Regions from separate parts of the Homo sapiens genome. Here all the other regions are linked to region 1. Evidence: promoter capture Hi-C in human tissues and cell types (Jung and others, 2019). All regions are on one chromosome and are shown on one strand. Each heading gives the region's core, a stretch centred on a gene start or on the middle of the fragment in contact. The rest is flanking DNA. Distances are from core to core; before and after follow the strand shown. Region 1 holds the start of STX8 (syntaxin 8). Region 2 overlaps STX8 (syntaxin 8). Region 3 overlaps USP43 (ubiquitin specific peptidase 43).

Region 1 (5,108 bases), core at 980-3,479:
CTGAGGCTGTGTCATGGGTGCATTCTTAACCTTGGCAAAATAAACTTTCTAAATTGACTGAGACCTGTCTCAGATACTTTGGGGTTCACAGTATCAAGGGCCTTAAAAATGTTTATACCCTTGAGCCCAACAGTTCTATTTCACTTTCAACAGTCTAATGAGAAAGCCACTTAGTCAAACTGATTGAGAATAACAAAAAAAGTATAAATGCTTCACTTTCAACAGTTCTAATTCCTACTTCTAGACAGGGAGCCCAAGGAAATAAGAGATAGAACAAAGGGACTCCCTTTGCAATGATAAAACAAAACAAAACATCAGAAAAACAAAAAACTAATAGGAGAAAAATAAATTATGGTCATTCATGTGATGCATTATTTTGCAACATAAGACAATTATGAGGCCAGGTGCGGTGGCTCACACCTGTAATCCCAGCACTTTGGGAGGCCAAGGCGGGCAGATTGCCTGAGCTCAGGAGTTCAAGATCAGCCTAGGCAACACGGTAAAACCCTGTCTCTACTAAAATACAAAAAATTAGCTGGGCGTGGCTGCGTGCGCCTGTAGTCCCAGCTACTCCAGAGGCTGAGGCAGGAGAGTTGCTTAAGCCCAGGAGGTGGAGGTTGCAGTGAGCCATGATCGCGCCATTGCACTCCAGCCTGGGTGACAGACAGAGCAAGACTCCGTCTCAAAAAAAAAAAAAAGAAGAAAAGAAAGTTATGCTTTCAAAGAATGTCCAATGACATAGAGAAATGCTGTTTATATTATATATATATATAAAAATATAGATTAAAATAACAAATTCATTGTAAAAAAATCATTAATGGCTATTTCCAAATTATAGAGTTAAAGATGCTATTTATTTTCCTTTTTGCAAATTTTCAATATTCTCTAAATTGAATATTCTCTATCAAGGGGTGTATATAACTGTTAAAATTAGGGATTTTGGGGTTTTTTATTTTTTTTTGAGACGGAGTTTCGCTCGTGTTGCCCAGGCTGGAGTGCAATGGCACGATCTCAGCTCACCACAACCTACACCTCCCGGGTTCAAGCGATTCTCCTGCCTCAGTCTCCCGAGTAGCTGGGATTACAGGCATGTACTACCATGCCCGGCTAATTTTGTATTTTTAGTAGAGACGGGGTTTCTCCATGTTGGTCAGGCTGGTCTCGACCTCCCGACCTCAGGTGATCTGCCTGCCTCGGCCTCCCAAAGTACTGGGATTACAGGCGTGAGCCACCACCGCGTCCGGCCTAAAATTAGGTTTAAAAAAGTAAATGCTAAATTAAATAATTGGCCCAAATAACCTAGATTCCAGGTAACTCAACTTTGTTCTTGGAATCCATTCTTCTAATATCCAGGATGTGGGCAACTTAAACAATTATAAACTATATTAGAAATAACAACATAAGACACATATTCCAACAAGAACGTTATAGAGCTGTAATATGTTTTTAATTATTAAGCAGAAAGGTCAAGTCTATGTTCAATAACAATACGTTCCTTGGGATCAAACAATATGTTCCTTGGGATCAAAAGTTGCATCTTTCATCATGCAGTCCTTGGGATTAACTGCTAAATAAATCACCCTTATCAGCTATTGTTTTACTGCAGAAGCTACTGCTAAAGGAAAAGACTTCATGATATTAACTCAAGAAAGTGCAAAATGCCTTATAAACAAGTGCACAATTTCCCTCCCAGGTTCCTGTATCTGGAAGGGCCCCCAAGATCTAGGTCTTAGCCCCAGCTGGTTACTAACTGGCTGGTGGCCATGGATTCTGAACCTCGGTTTCTCCACCTGTGAAATAAGGGGGTTTACCGGGATGGACTGACATGCTACAAAAACGTTATTTCGACTTCACTTTTATAGGAGTCCAGGGAAGCCTGCACCAGCCAGCTAGCTCCAAAACCAGGATGGGCGGGAAATCCCCGCAACGAGATGCAGCCCAGAAAAGCTAAAGGAATATTCAGAGATTTGGCGTAAGTCCTCAGCTCTCCAGCGGACCACCTGGTCTCCTTCCCGGGCCACCCTTGCAAGGACCAAGTGTGGCGGGATGTGGCTGAGCCCCCTCAGTAAAGGAAAGGTCTCGCTGCCCCTCCCCTCATCCCGAAAGGCCACCAGCGGCAATGCGAAGTGATTGCCTGCTCTCCGGAAGCCCGGCCTCCCCGAAGGTCCCTCCACGCACCGCCGCCCTCACCCGGGACTCACCAGGGGTCCGGTGCCATCCTGCAGACTCCGCCCGCCGCTCGGACTCTTCCTGCTCTTAGCAGCTGACTACGGCGGCCCGCGCGGCTCACTCCCCGCAGTTCGTCCCGTGCGCGACCGGAGCCTGGAGTTTGCAAAGTGAGTAGCTAGGGCCTCAGAACTATAATCAGAGAAAGCAAAGCGCTCCCCTGCGGACAGTACACTGGAGCAATCTACTCCCACCAAGAGACGCGAACTGCTAAGCTCAGTTAAAATTGTTAAATAGAAACAAAGCATTTTCCCAGGAAGGTGGGAGCGCTGCAAGACCTCTCTGTAGCAGTTACTTAAAAATTTATCCTGCTTCAAAAACAAAACAATAAACAAAACACTAGATTGCGGTGAGACTTGCACGCTGCGTAAACTCACTACAACCTACTTTAAGTTAACTTTATGATATGTAAATTATACCTCAACGCTTTTTAAAAAATCTTTAAAATTTTTTTCACACTGCTCCAAACAGGGGCCCAAAGAAGTATCAATTATATATATTTTTTATAGCAGCCTTCCTATCAGTCCTGTACGCCTGATTACATATTTTTTAAATGCCATTCATTCGGTGCTTGATTTTAGAGTTACTAAGAAGTCACAGACTCTACACAAGGGGATGGAGGAATTAGTTCTGCGCAGTTAGTGCCATCCCCTAAATTTCCAGAGAAATAGCACAAAAAAAAAGAAGAGGAGTCCCACCCCATCTCTCTTCCAGTCCCCATACCCCTTCATTTCCAAGAATGCTAATGAACTCGAACTCGGCAGGCTGGGTTTCTGCGCGGGCGTGGAGCTGGAGCGCATGCGCTCGTCCGTTACCATAACGACCAGAAGACGCTGCAGCCACTAGGGAGGAGAGCAAAGTAATCAGAACCTCCCAAGGATGGATAACAAAATTTCGCCGGAGGCCCAAGTGGCGGAGCTGGAACTTGACGCCGTGATCGGCTTCAATGGTGAGGCCTCCAGCATCTTTGGGCTGGCTGGTTTAGGAATTCGGAGGACGTGTAGTGCAAACAGGAATAGTGAGACACCGGGGACACCTGAAAGGCAGTGTGGGACAACGGCAGGAGCCCTGGCCAGGGACACGCACAGGAGGACCCGCACAGCCTGACCTGCCCCAAGGCCTTGGAGAGTCACTTCCTCGATCCAAGCCTCAGGGAGTGAGATGGTTTTTACCAGCTCGGACAAGCGCCAGCACCTAAAAGGGACCAAATGCCTCTTCCCCAGGCGGGCCGGATGAGTACGGGTGGTTGTAACCCTTCTCCCACTAGGTCAGCCCTTCCTGGCTCTGAACCCCACGCCGCTCGCAAAGCCCTAGGCTCCTTCGTAACCACACAGAAGGATGCTGTCTGTGTCGGCCCCTGGGACCAGCTAGGAAATCTGCTAAAATCCCAACTGGCGTACCAGTGAGAAAGGGCTGGGAGGGAACGTGTGTTTGAGCAACCCCCTGAGGGGATGTTGTTGGTCCTCTAATCCTAAGGAAGGTTTCTAAATGATGAGGATTTCAGACCAGGACAGAAGGGGAAGGGGACGCCAGGGGGAGCTAAAGCGGAGAGAAAAAGGGACTGGGCCGCTCCGCTGAAATCTTATTTGTGACTGCCTATTGTTTTGAAGATTCTGGGAAGAAAAAGCTGTGGGGTTTTATTGTTCGTTTTGAGGGGTTTTGGTTTTTTGAGGGATGAGAAAACAATGAATTAGATTTTAGGAGAAGCAAAACTTTTCAAAAATGTGTGTTGTGATGCCTGAAAGCTTTAAGAATGTGGATGCAGAACAATCACTGTCTAAAGTTTTAAGCATACTCTAGGACTTAGCTCTTGACTCTTGGTTTAACTTTAACAGTCTCCAATAGAAAGTGAGTGCTTTATACATTTCGGATATCAGATATCTTGAGAGTTGGTTACAAGATCATTGAGAAACAATTGAGCAGCCTACAGTGGGTTGCATAATGTCACTTGTTGAGCCAATGTAGAACCACACACATAGAACTCTGCAACTGAGGCCGGGGGCAGTGGCTCATGCCTGTAATCCCAGCGCTTTGGGAGGCCAAGGCAGGTAGATCACCTGAGGTCAGGAGTTCGAGACCATCCTGTCCAACATGGTGAAATCCCATCTATACTAAAAATACAAAAATTATCCGGGCGTGGTGGTAGGTGCCTGTAATCCCAGCTACTTGAGAGGCTGAGGGAGGAGAATCACTTGAACTTGGGAGGCAGAGGTTGCAGTGAGCCAAGGTCACGCCACTGCACTCCAGCCTGGGGGACAGAGCGAGACTCCGTCTCAAAAAATAAATAAATAAATAAACAAACAAACATACATATTCAACAGGTTATAGGAGGAGCTATGAATACTCATGAAGGTGGTCCCAACACATGTGTATTGAACAAACATTGATGTAATATATCACTCATATTCACCTTGGGATGGAGACCTAACATTTAAATGTATTACAATTAGGTCCTATATGTCAAAAGGCCTTTTCAGGACATGACGGCACGTTAAGTGGGAAGCCTCAGTAAACTGGCCAGAGGTAGTCCGTGGTGAGTGGTCTTCTTGCCAGGAGAACATTACTGAAATCACTCTGTTGTCCAATCAAAATTGTTCTTATGGCGGGTTGAACAGGGCTTCAGTTAGTAAGTGCCTATGAACTGGACAGGTTGCAGTTGTTTTCATATTGCTTATCTCAAGATAAGTGCTTGTTTAGCTGCCAGAGAAAAAGAAAAACCTTGTGGCAGTGTATAGTTTATTTTATTTATTTATTTTGAGACGGTGGAGTCTCGCTCTGTTGTGTAATGGCACAATCTCGGCTCACTGCAACCTCCACCTCCTGGATTCAAGCTATTCTCCTGCCTCAGCCTCCAGAGTAGCTGGGATTATAAGCACCCACCA
Region 2 (5,108 bases), core at 1,695-4,194, 200 kb before region 1:
ACAGAGCGAGACTCCATCTCAAAAACAAACAAACAAACAAAAGAAAACATTGATGATCCCAACACCCAGCCCCCTGCCTTACCCATGTCCTGCCATTCCCACATCACCAATGGTGACCACGTGCCCCTCCACACCTCTCTTCAGACTCTAACCAACACTGCACATGCAGGTCTCTCTCCTCCTTTTCTTTCCGTCCTCCCTCCCTCCTTTTCCTTAAGTGGGACCATAGTATATATACTCCCTGCTTATTTTGGTTTGGCTTTTCACTTACCAAACTCAGAAGCAGCTTGTCTTACTAATTCTTCAGACCTCTGCTCCTGTGTTGCAGCCTCTTGGAAACCTCTGAGCCCTTGGCTGACTCAGACCCGTCTGTACTACCTGCAGTCATTAGTGATTTACAGCATGTGTCCCCTCTCTCCTATACTCTTAAGTCCTATCTACCTTTTACCCTTTTTTTTTTTTTTTAAAGAAACAGGATCTCATCACTGCCCAGGCTGAAGTGCAGTGGCACAATCATAGCTCACCGCAACGTTGAACTCCTAGGTTCAAGGGATCCTCCCATCCCAGCCTCCCAAGTAGCTGGGACTATAGGCGTGAGCCACTGTGCCCAGTCCTATCTACATTTTTAGCTCCAGTTCCTAGCCCAGTACCTGGCACACAGATGATATCCACTATCTGTGCTGGCATGGATGAAGAAGAGAACAGATGAATGGGAAAACTTGAGGACAAGATGGTTTTGAAGGCAGATAGGCACTGATGAAGGACAAGGCATTTCTCCATTGATACTGAATTAAGGATGACACAGCGGGTACAGAGACAGACACACAAGAATGTAAAGAAAAAGGGGCCAAGAGATTTAACTAGCTTACCTCAATGAACCATGATAAGGGAAAGAAGAAGTAAAAACAATAGCCAGATAGAAATATTCTTGATAAACAGCATGATAAATAAAGGAACTGGCATAGTTCCTTCTTTGTTCCAGATTAATTGCTTATTCTTGTGGTAAAAGATTAAAAATAATTCTCTGAGAGACAAAAGTAGCTCTAAAGTCTGTTAAATAAACAAGACTACTTAGAACTCAGTTTCTTACCTATGTTTTATAAGGTTCAAAAGAGCTAATATGATAAAAAGCATGTTGGTCAGGCACAGTGTCATACATCTGTAATCCCAGCACTTTGGGAGGCTGAGGCAGGCAGATCGCTTGAGTCCAGGAGTTTGAGACCAGCCTGGGCAACATGGTGAAATCCTGTCTATAAAAAATAAAATAAAAATTAGCCAGGCATGACGGCGAGTGCCTGTAGTCCCAGGTACTCAGCAGGCTCAGGTGGGAGGCTCACTTAAGCCTGGGAGGTGGAGGTTGCAGTGAGTGCCACTGCACTCCAGCCAGGATGACAGACCAGACAGACCCTGTACCAAAAAAAAAAAAAAAAAAAAAAAAGAAAGAAAAAAGAAAAAAAGCAAGCCAGGTGCGGTGGCTCACACCTGTAATCCCAACACTTTGGGAGGCTGAGGCAGGCAATCACTTGAGGCTGGGGGGTTGAGGCCAGCCTAAGCAACATGGTGAAACCCCGTCTCTACTAAAAAATACTAAAATTAGCCAGGCATGGTGATACACACCTGTAATCCCAGCTAATTGGGAGGCTGAGGCAGGAGAATCACTTGAACTCAGGAGGCGGAGGTTGCAGTGAGCCGAGATCACACCATTGCACTCCAGCCTGGGCGAAAGAGCAAGACTCCATCTCAAAAAACAAAAATGAATTAAACCCCACATCTTATCATAGCTGGCATTTATAAAGGACTCACTAGTACTAGTCATTGTGCCACCTAACTGTTCTCACTTAGTCTACAGAACAATCACATGTACTACTAATTGCTATCCTCCTTTTAGAGTGAAGGGAACTGAGACTTAGAGAGGGCAAGCAGCTCTCTAAGTCACCCAGGCTGTAAGTGGCAGATCCCAAATTGTGCCCCAGGACTGTCGGACGCCACACCTGTGCTGCATGCTACTACTCTTAACCAGGGTCCTGCCCCACCTCCCTAAGAAGATCACATTCAGATGAGCTGAAGGCAGATCCAATGGTCGTCGATTGAGACAGCATTAATGCAATGTCAGCTGGGTTGATTTCTAACCACATCACTGAAACACTACTAAAATCACAATAAACGTGCTTAGACAACATTACGTAATAGTCAATATGCTGAGAAGCAAGACTGTACATCCACCCGAGTCATTCAGAATTCTTAGTCTGGTCTTTCACAATTGGCGCCCTCTGTCAGACTCAGACAAGGCTCTATTTTGAATTCTAATGAGGACCAAGCACACTGAATATTTAAACTGCAATTACAAAGATCCTACTTTTATGTAAATGTCCTTAATGGAAGTAACAGATCTGAAAATACATAGAGGTACCAGTGGAAAAATATCAGTCTAATTTGCATTTAGAAGCTAGAAAAAAAAAAAAACAGTATTGTTTTCTACTTGATGCTATCATTGGGGTGGGGTTGAGGGAGGAAAAGGGAGGAAAATCCACACAAAAATCTCGGTAAAAATTTTAAAGCCTGTGCTCCTGAGTGAAAGGTTCACAAAGAGGTACTTGAATCCCTTGTTAAGAACTGAACAAACAAATTCATCATCGGGCCTCTCTCCTGTGTGGCCCCTTGCAGTTCAGTCTGTATTCATAACTAGAAATTCTCTCACTGCTCAAGCATCTATGACTGATACATCGGCCCATCAAGGAAGATATGCCAAGGGTAGCGAAACAAAAGGCCATTTCATGATTCACAACCTATTTTTACACTCCTTTGTGTAAAATGATGATGTGGCGGCTGCTATCCACACTGCACCCAAGTCCTCTTAAACAGTGATAGAATTGCCCTGTGAATGGTAATTGAGTTACACTCCACTGGGCTGCTTAATTCCCACCCCCTATAGTTAAAGTACACCTTGCTTGCAGTTTGATTATGCATTTGTATGTGTTCATATATAAAACAGCCAATGTGGCTTTGCACTTGAGAAGAGCAGGTGGTTAACTCTTCGCTGTATCTCGAAGCTCTTGCACCAACCCTCTGCCCCTCAAACGCCTTTCTTATTAAGATCATAATTTAACTGCCTAGCATTTGGGCATTCTCTTCAAGATGCTAACATTTATCAAATGGATTATGCTTTTTTTTTTTTTCTTTCTTCTGGTTTGTCCTCTGGTTGATTCTTTCTTCTGCTGATACCAAATATGTTCACTGGATTTTTTAATTTCAGTTACCTGTTATTTCTAGAAGTTCTATCTGGTCCCTTTTCAAAATTTCTGTGTTACTTATTATAGTTTTCGGGTTTCTTAAGATGCTTTCAAGCTTGTCATTTTTAAAATATATTTTAAAAAGTGGAATTGAGTTTATAATCAACGTCTGATAATTCTACTACTGCAATTCTGTTCAGATTCATGTCCATGGTCTATTGCTGGTCCTCACTCATGCTGTGCTGTTTCCGGGTATGCTAGAATATATTTGACTATGTGCTGGTCATTGCCCTTAGAAATTTATTTTTAGTTGGCTCCTAGCATCCTAGAATATGCTTTCCTCCAGAGGCATTTCATTTGTTTTTGCCAGGCACCTCGAGCTATAACAGGTGAGTCTGCCTCAAACCAAATTCATGGTATGATGTTTCCCGGTCTACCCTGAGTATGTATGTCCAGGGGGCAAATTCACATGTGGGCCTTTCTGTGACCACAAGTTGTCAATACTGTATTTTCCCTCCCGTCTTTTTCTTCTCCTATTCTGCTCAGTGCCAACGCTGCCCTTTCCACAACCCCCCATGGTAAGTTTAGTTCTGGTTCACTTTTACTCTGAGGGTGTAGCTCTTTGGGGTCCCAGTTTCTTGTGGGAAGGGTCTCCCATGACATTTCCTAATTAGAGTGGGTGCCCAGGGACTAAATTTCCACCCCATTTGCCTGCCCCTCTCAGGCTACAGAAGTGTCTGGCTTTATCAGATTAAAAAAATTATTTTTATTTTTATTTATTAATTTTTTTTCTGAGATGGAGTCATGCTTTTTTGCCCAGGCTGGAGTGCAGTGGCATGATCTCGGCTAACTGCAATCTCTGCCTCCCGGGTTCAAGCGATTCTCCTGCCTCAGCCTCCCAACTAGCTGGGATTACAGGCACGCACCACCACGCCTGGCTAATTTTTGTATTCTTAGTAGAGACAGGGTTTCAACATGTTGGCCAGGCTGGTCTTGAACTCTTGACCTTGTGATCCACCCGCCTCGGCCTCCCAAAGTGCTGGGATTACAGGCATGAGCCACCACGCCCAGCCCTCATTTTTTTTTTTTTTTTTTTTTTAAGGAAAATACTGAAAAGTGGGCCAGGCGCGGTGGCTCACGCCTGTAATCCCAAAACTTTGGTAGGCTGAGGTGGGCAGATCACCTGAGGTCAGGAGATCGAGACCAGCCTGACCAACATGGAGAAACTCTGTCTTTAACAAAAATACAAAAATTAGCCCAGCGTGGTGGTGCATGCCTGTAATCCCAGCTACTCAGGAGGCTGAGGCAGGAGAATAGCTTGAACCTGGGAGACGGAGGTTGCAGTGAGCTGAGGTCATGCCATTGCACTCCAGCCTGGGAAACAAGAGCAAGAAGACTCCATCTCAAAAAAAAAAAAAGAAAAGAAAAGAAAAAGAAAAAGAAAAAGAAAATACTGGAAAGTACCTAAGAGTTTAGAGGCTGAAAGCAAAACCAAGCCAGGCTAATATGAAGGTTCCTCAAACATTTAAAAACTGAATTACCATTTTATCCAACAACTCCACTTCTGTATATATACACAAAAAAGGAAAGACTTGAGCAGCTATTTGTACAGCAACATTTATGGTGGCATTATTCACAATAGCCAAAAGGTGGAACAACCTGTGTCCACTGACAAATGGATAAACAAAATGTGATATATACATAAAATGGAATTATTATTCAGCCTTACAAAGCAATGAAATTCTGATACACACTACAACATGGATGAATCTTGAAGACATCACCCTAAATAAGCCAGATATAAAAGTATACATATGATCCCGCTTACAATAGGTACCTAGAATAATCATATCTACAGAGACAGAAAGTAGAAAAGTA
Region 3 (5,108 bases), core at 1,206-3,705, 140 kb after region 1:
TCAGGTGATCTGCTCGCCTCGGCCTCCGTAAGTGCTGGCATTACAGGCGTGAGCCACCGCGCCCAGCCCATGCTTTCCTTTTTGTGCTCAAATGCCTCTCCCTAAACTTTTAAGCTTAGTCACATGGGAAACCCGATCACAGGTTTCCCCTCTCCTTGTTGACAGGTTTCTGCAGTTCTGTTCTGGTTCTGTAGTTCTGGGGCTGAAGGATGGGGCCGGAATGGGGATCTGGTTGTGAGATGCTCCGCTAGGACTCTGAAGTGCTGGGGTTGGGCTCAGCCTCCCTCTCTGTGTTTCCTCCACAGGCTCTACCAGCTCCTCCCTGTCTGATCACTGGCTCTTACGGCTCGGGAGCCACGCTGGCAGCACAAGGGGAAGCCTGCTGTCCTGGAGCTCTGCCCCCTGCCCCTCCCTGCCCCAGGTTCCTGACTCTCCCATCTTCACCAACAGCCTCTGCAATCAGGAAAAGGGTATGTTGGTTAAATGTGCTTGGTTGATTTTCATTTTCTGTAATGTCTGTTGTTATTGCTCAGTATGAAAGCGCTGTCACTTCGTAGTCTTGAATGGAAAGGGTCCATCATTACGAGAGGTTTGTTCATCTCTTAAATGGGGTCTTCTATGACCTGCCCTTCCTTGCCCGCTTCTCCCCATCCTCTACCCTCCAGCCACAGGTACCTTTTCTCTGCCCCCGTGTAGCTTATTGTCATAAGCAAGTAAACCTGGGAACATGGTACTTAAAGAAGGGAGAATGGCAAAGAGAATCAGGGAAGAGGGTATTCAGGCCCGGGGTGGAGGAGGGAGGGTGCACAGGGCCCGGGAGATAGGACGGGCGGGTAACATCTTTCTAGGGGGTGACACTGAGCAGAGCTCTGAGTGAGAGAGAGTGACTTGTGTAGAAGCCTAGGGCTATGTTCCAGGAGAGGAGCCCTCCAGGGTGAAGGCTGGGAGTGAGCATTGGATGTGTGAGGGGCAGAAGAAACCAGAGCTGTGGCTGGAGCAGAGACACCCAGGAGTAGAGAGAGCAGGAGTGGACAGGGGCCATGTTAGAACCTACCTTTCTGAGCTAGAGGTATAAAGTTTGGACTCTATTCTAAGTGTAGTGGATAGCGAGTGGAGAGGTGTTTTTGTTTGTTTGTTTGTTTGTTTGTTTGTTAATGCTTCTGCTTTAATCATTGTTTTTAAAAAATTGACACATAATAATTGTACATATATTTGGGGTACATATGATAGTTTGATACATGCGTACAATGTGTTCATTACATACAAACTAGGGTATTTAGAATATACATCACCTCAAACATTTATCATTTCTTTGTGACGGGAACATTTCAAATCTCTCTAGCTGTTTTGAAATATACAATATATTGTTGGTAACTGTAGTCACCTTCCTGTGCTATTAAACATGAGAACTTATTTTATCTAACTGTATATTTGTACTTTTTTTTTGAGACAGAGTCTCACTCTGTCGCAGGCTGGAGTCCAGTGGCATGATCTCGGCTCACTGCAACCTCTGCCTCCCGGGTTCGAGCAATACTCCTTCCTCAGCCTCTAGAGTAGCTGGGATTACAGGCGCCTGCCACTACGCCTGGCTAATTTTTGTACTTTTCGTAGAGACAGGGTTTCATCATGTTGGTCAGGCTGATCTCAAACTCCTGACCTCACGTGATCTGCCTGCCTCGGCCTCCCAAAGTGCTGGGATTACAGGGATGAGCCACCGCACCTGGCCTATTTGTACCTATCAACCCACCTCTCTTCATCTGCCCCCATTCCCGGCCTCTGGCAACCATCATTCTACTCCCTACCTCCATAAAATCAACTTTTTTAGCTTAGAGTTTTGAGCAGGGAAGTGGTTGATCTGATTTATAGTTTGTAGAGAGTCTACTCTGGCTACTGTGTGGAGAAGACATCACAGGGGGCAAGAGTGGGGACGTAGGAAGATCATTCAGGAGACTAACATGGTTATATCCAGGTGGGAGACAGTGGTGGTTTGAACTAGCATGTTAGATAAGAGATGGTCAAACTGGATGTATACTGAAGCTGGAGCTGCTAAGATTTGCTGATGTGGGGTGTGCAGTGTGAAGGAAAGAGAATAGTCAAGGATGACTCCTTGCTTAAGGTCTAAATAACGAGGGGAATTGCTGCACAGTTAATGAGGTGGGAGAAAGTTGGGTAGGAACACTCCATTCTGGAGGGAAGTCAAGAATTTTTTGACACAGTAATTTTGAAAATCCTGTAAGACACCATTCCCCAGGCTTTTTGGCACCAGGGACCGGTTTCATGGAAGACAATTTTTACACACACTTGAGGTGAGGATGGTTTGGGATGAAACTGTTCCACCTCAGATCATCAGGCATGAGATTCTCATAAGGAGCATGCAACCTACATCCCTCACGTGCAGAGTTCACAATAGGCTTTGTGTTCCTATGAGAATCTAATACGCCTGCTGATCTGACAGGAGGCGGAGCTCAGGCGGTAATGCGAGTGATGGGGAGCAGCTGTAAATACAGATGAAGCTTCGCTCATTTGCTCACCACTCACTTCCTGCTCTGTGGCCCGATTCCTAACAGGCTGTGGATCAGTACTTGTCCACAGCCCAGGGGTTGGGGGACCCTGCTAAGACATCACATCAATGTGATAACTGGGGAGTGGAGAGAAATATTTGAGAGTCATCAGCACATGGATGGAACAGTGCTGGCTGAGCTCCCCTGGGGAAATAGTACAGATGAAAAAGAATGAAGGCCGGGCACAGTGGCTCACGCCTGTAATCCCAGCACTTTGGGAGGCCGAGGTGGGCAGATCATGGGGTCAGGAGTTCGAGACCAGCCTGACCAACATGGTGAAACCCCGTCTCTACTAAAAATACAAAAAAAATTAGCTGGGCATGGTGGCGCACGCCTGTAATCCCAGCTACTCAGGAGGCTGAGGCAGGGGAATCGCTTGAACCTGGGAGGTGGAGGTTGCAGTGAGCTTAGATCACACCACTGCACTCCAGCCTGGGCAACAGAGCAAGACTCCATCTCAAAAAAAAAAAAAAAAAAATGAAGACCCGAGACCAAACCTGGGGGCTCTCCAACATCTAAGGGTTGAGCAAAGGTGGAGAGGCCAAGAAAAGAACGGAGAAGGAGCAGCCAGTGAGGGGAAGAAAACCAGGTGAGTGTGGTTGACAGATGAAAAAAAGAGAATCTTAAGGAAGCAGCCAACTGTACTGGATGCTGCTGAGAGGCTGAGTAAGGTGAGGATGGGTAGATTCCATCAGGCTGGAAGGCCACCGGTGACTTGCCAGGAGCATCTGCCATGGCTGGAGAGAAGGGAGGCCTGCCTGCAGCAGGTGGACCAGAGGCTGGGGTGGAGGAAGTGGCAGTGTGTACACACTCCAGCAGGCGAGGTGACTGAAGGAAGGCGGGTTGACAGCTAAGTAGGAGATAGTAGAGACGCATTCAGATGATCAGGTCTACAGGGAGATGTTGATGACAGTGCTGGGAACAAGGGGGTAACCACAGAAACAAAGTCCTTAAGGCTGAGCGTTGTCAGATCACGCCTGGAACCCTAGCATTTTGGGAGGCCAAGGTGGGAGGATCGCGTGAGTCCAAGAAGTTAAGACTAGCCCTGGCAACATAGTGAGACCCCATCTCTATAAAAAATTAGCCAGGCATGGTGGCATGTGCCTGTTGTCCCAGCTACTCAAAAGGCTGAGGTGGGAGGATCTCTTGAGCTTGGGAAGTTAGGGCTGCAGTGAGCTGTGAGCACACCACTGCACTCCGGCCTGGGTGACAGAGTGAGACCTTGTCTCAAAAAAACAAACAAAAAAACCAGCATTACTATGTAAGAACTGTATGTCTGTGTATGTGTGTTTGTGCCTGTGTGTATGTCTGTGTGTGTGTCTGTGTCTTTGTGTGTGTGTGTCTCTGTGTGTGTGTCTGTGTGTTTGTGTCTTTGTGTGTGTGTCTCTGTGAGTGTATGTCTGTGTGTGTGTTTCTTGTGTGTGTGTCTCTATGTGTATGTGCCTGTGTGTGTGTCTGTGTGTATGTGTGTGTGTCTGTGTGTGTCTCTGTGTGTGTATGTGTGTGTGTGTGTGTGTGTCTCTGTAGGTATGTGTCTGCGTGTTTGTGTCTATGTGTGTGTCTCTGTGTGTGTGTGTCTGTGTATCTGTGTGTCTCTGTGTGTCTATGTGTATGTATCTGTGTATATGTGTCTGTGTGTGTCTCTGTGTATCTGTGTGTGTGTCTCTGTGTGTCTATGTATATGTATCTGTGTATATGTGTCTGTGTGTGTGTTTCTGTGTGTCTATGTGTATGTATCTGTGTATATGTGTGTGTGTCTGTGTTTGTGTATCTGTGTGTGTGTCTGTGTGTGTATGTGTCTGTGTATGTGAGAATGTGTTTGTGTGTATGAGTGTGCTTGTGTGTGTATTGTTTGTGCCTGTATGTCTGTGTGTGTGTGTTTGTGTGTCTTTGTGTGAGTGTGTGATCTTTAGCCTTTGTGTTCCTTCAGCCAGAAAGTGGTAACATGTTCAAATTATTTTTTTAGTTCCTTATTTCTTGTTAGGTCCTAACTTAGTTTTTTAAATACAATTTTAATAGAAATATTATATATACTTGTGATTAGTATACTTTACATATTGCATACAATTATATATATAAGTATATGTAAGTAAAGTATATTAATCCTTCAATACTTAAAGTATATTAAGTATACAGCTGACAAATTTTCATAAAATGAACATCCTCATATACCAGATTAAAAAATAGAATATTCTAGCACCCTGCTGCCTTGTATCTCTCTCAATCATGACTGTTTTAAATAAAAAACAGCTTGGAGATACATAGTTCTCTGCACAGAAATTTACTTATGAGAGAGAGAGCGAACTGTTGTCTGTTGACAATTGTCAATAAAAAAGCAAACACAGGGGTTTGAAGAAGAGGGGGTGCAGGGTGAGGTGGGGGAACTACCTCTTCCTTTCTGCAGGTTCATTCATGGGCTGGAATCTGTTGTGGAGGCTAGCCTTGTGGTCTGACCTGGAGAAATCTGGCCTGGTCATCAAGGGGAGCACCCTGAGTTGTTACAGATTTATGGTTTCTTGAGTTATTTATGGATTCTCCAAAAATCCA

The links. The method cuts DNA at HindIII sites, captures the fragments that hold promoters and counts their contacts. A contact is called where the count stands out against the background at its distance.
Region 2: a fragment that was not itself captured here is called in contact with the fragment with the promoter of STX8 in region 1 in 1 of the 25 tissues and cell types used here (mesenchymal stem cells).
Region 3: a contact is called between a fragment that was not itself captured here and the fragment with the promoter of STX8 in region 1, in 1 of the 25 tissues and cell types used here (lymphoblastoid cells).

Annotation. Positions count from the first base shown.
Region 1 is chr17:9,573,591-9,578,698 of GRCh38, forward strand. STX8 (syntaxin 8) reads right to left here and starts at 2,230. Exons shown (of 8, transcript NM_004853.3): 1 at 2,202-2,230. The coding sequence starts at 2,218. It overlaps CFAP52 (cilia and flagella associated protein 52), which reads left to right and starts at 3,052. Exons shown (of 14, transcript NM_145054.5): 1 at 3,052-3,175. The coding sequence starts at 3,106. RefSeq lists enhancers at 2,213-2,392, 3,185-3,314. The HindIII fragment of the contact is 7,753 bases long and covers 1-5,108 here.
Region 2 is chr17:9,368,473-9,373,580 of GRCh38, forward strand. All of the region lies in intron 7 of STX8 (syntaxin 8), which reads right to left. Among named protein-coding and RNA genes, the nearest start is that of STX8, 200 kb to the right of the region's middle. The HindIII fragment of the contact is 5,571 bases long and covers 160-5,108 here.
Region 3 is chr17:9,711,663-9,716,770 of GRCh38, forward strand. USP43 (ubiquitin specific peptidase 43) reads left to right here. Exons shown (of 15, transcript NM_153210.5): 14 at 306-470. Among named protein-coding and RNA genes, the nearest start is that of USP43, 69 kb to the left of the region's middle. The HindIII fragment of the contact is 7,150 bases long and covers 1-5,108 here.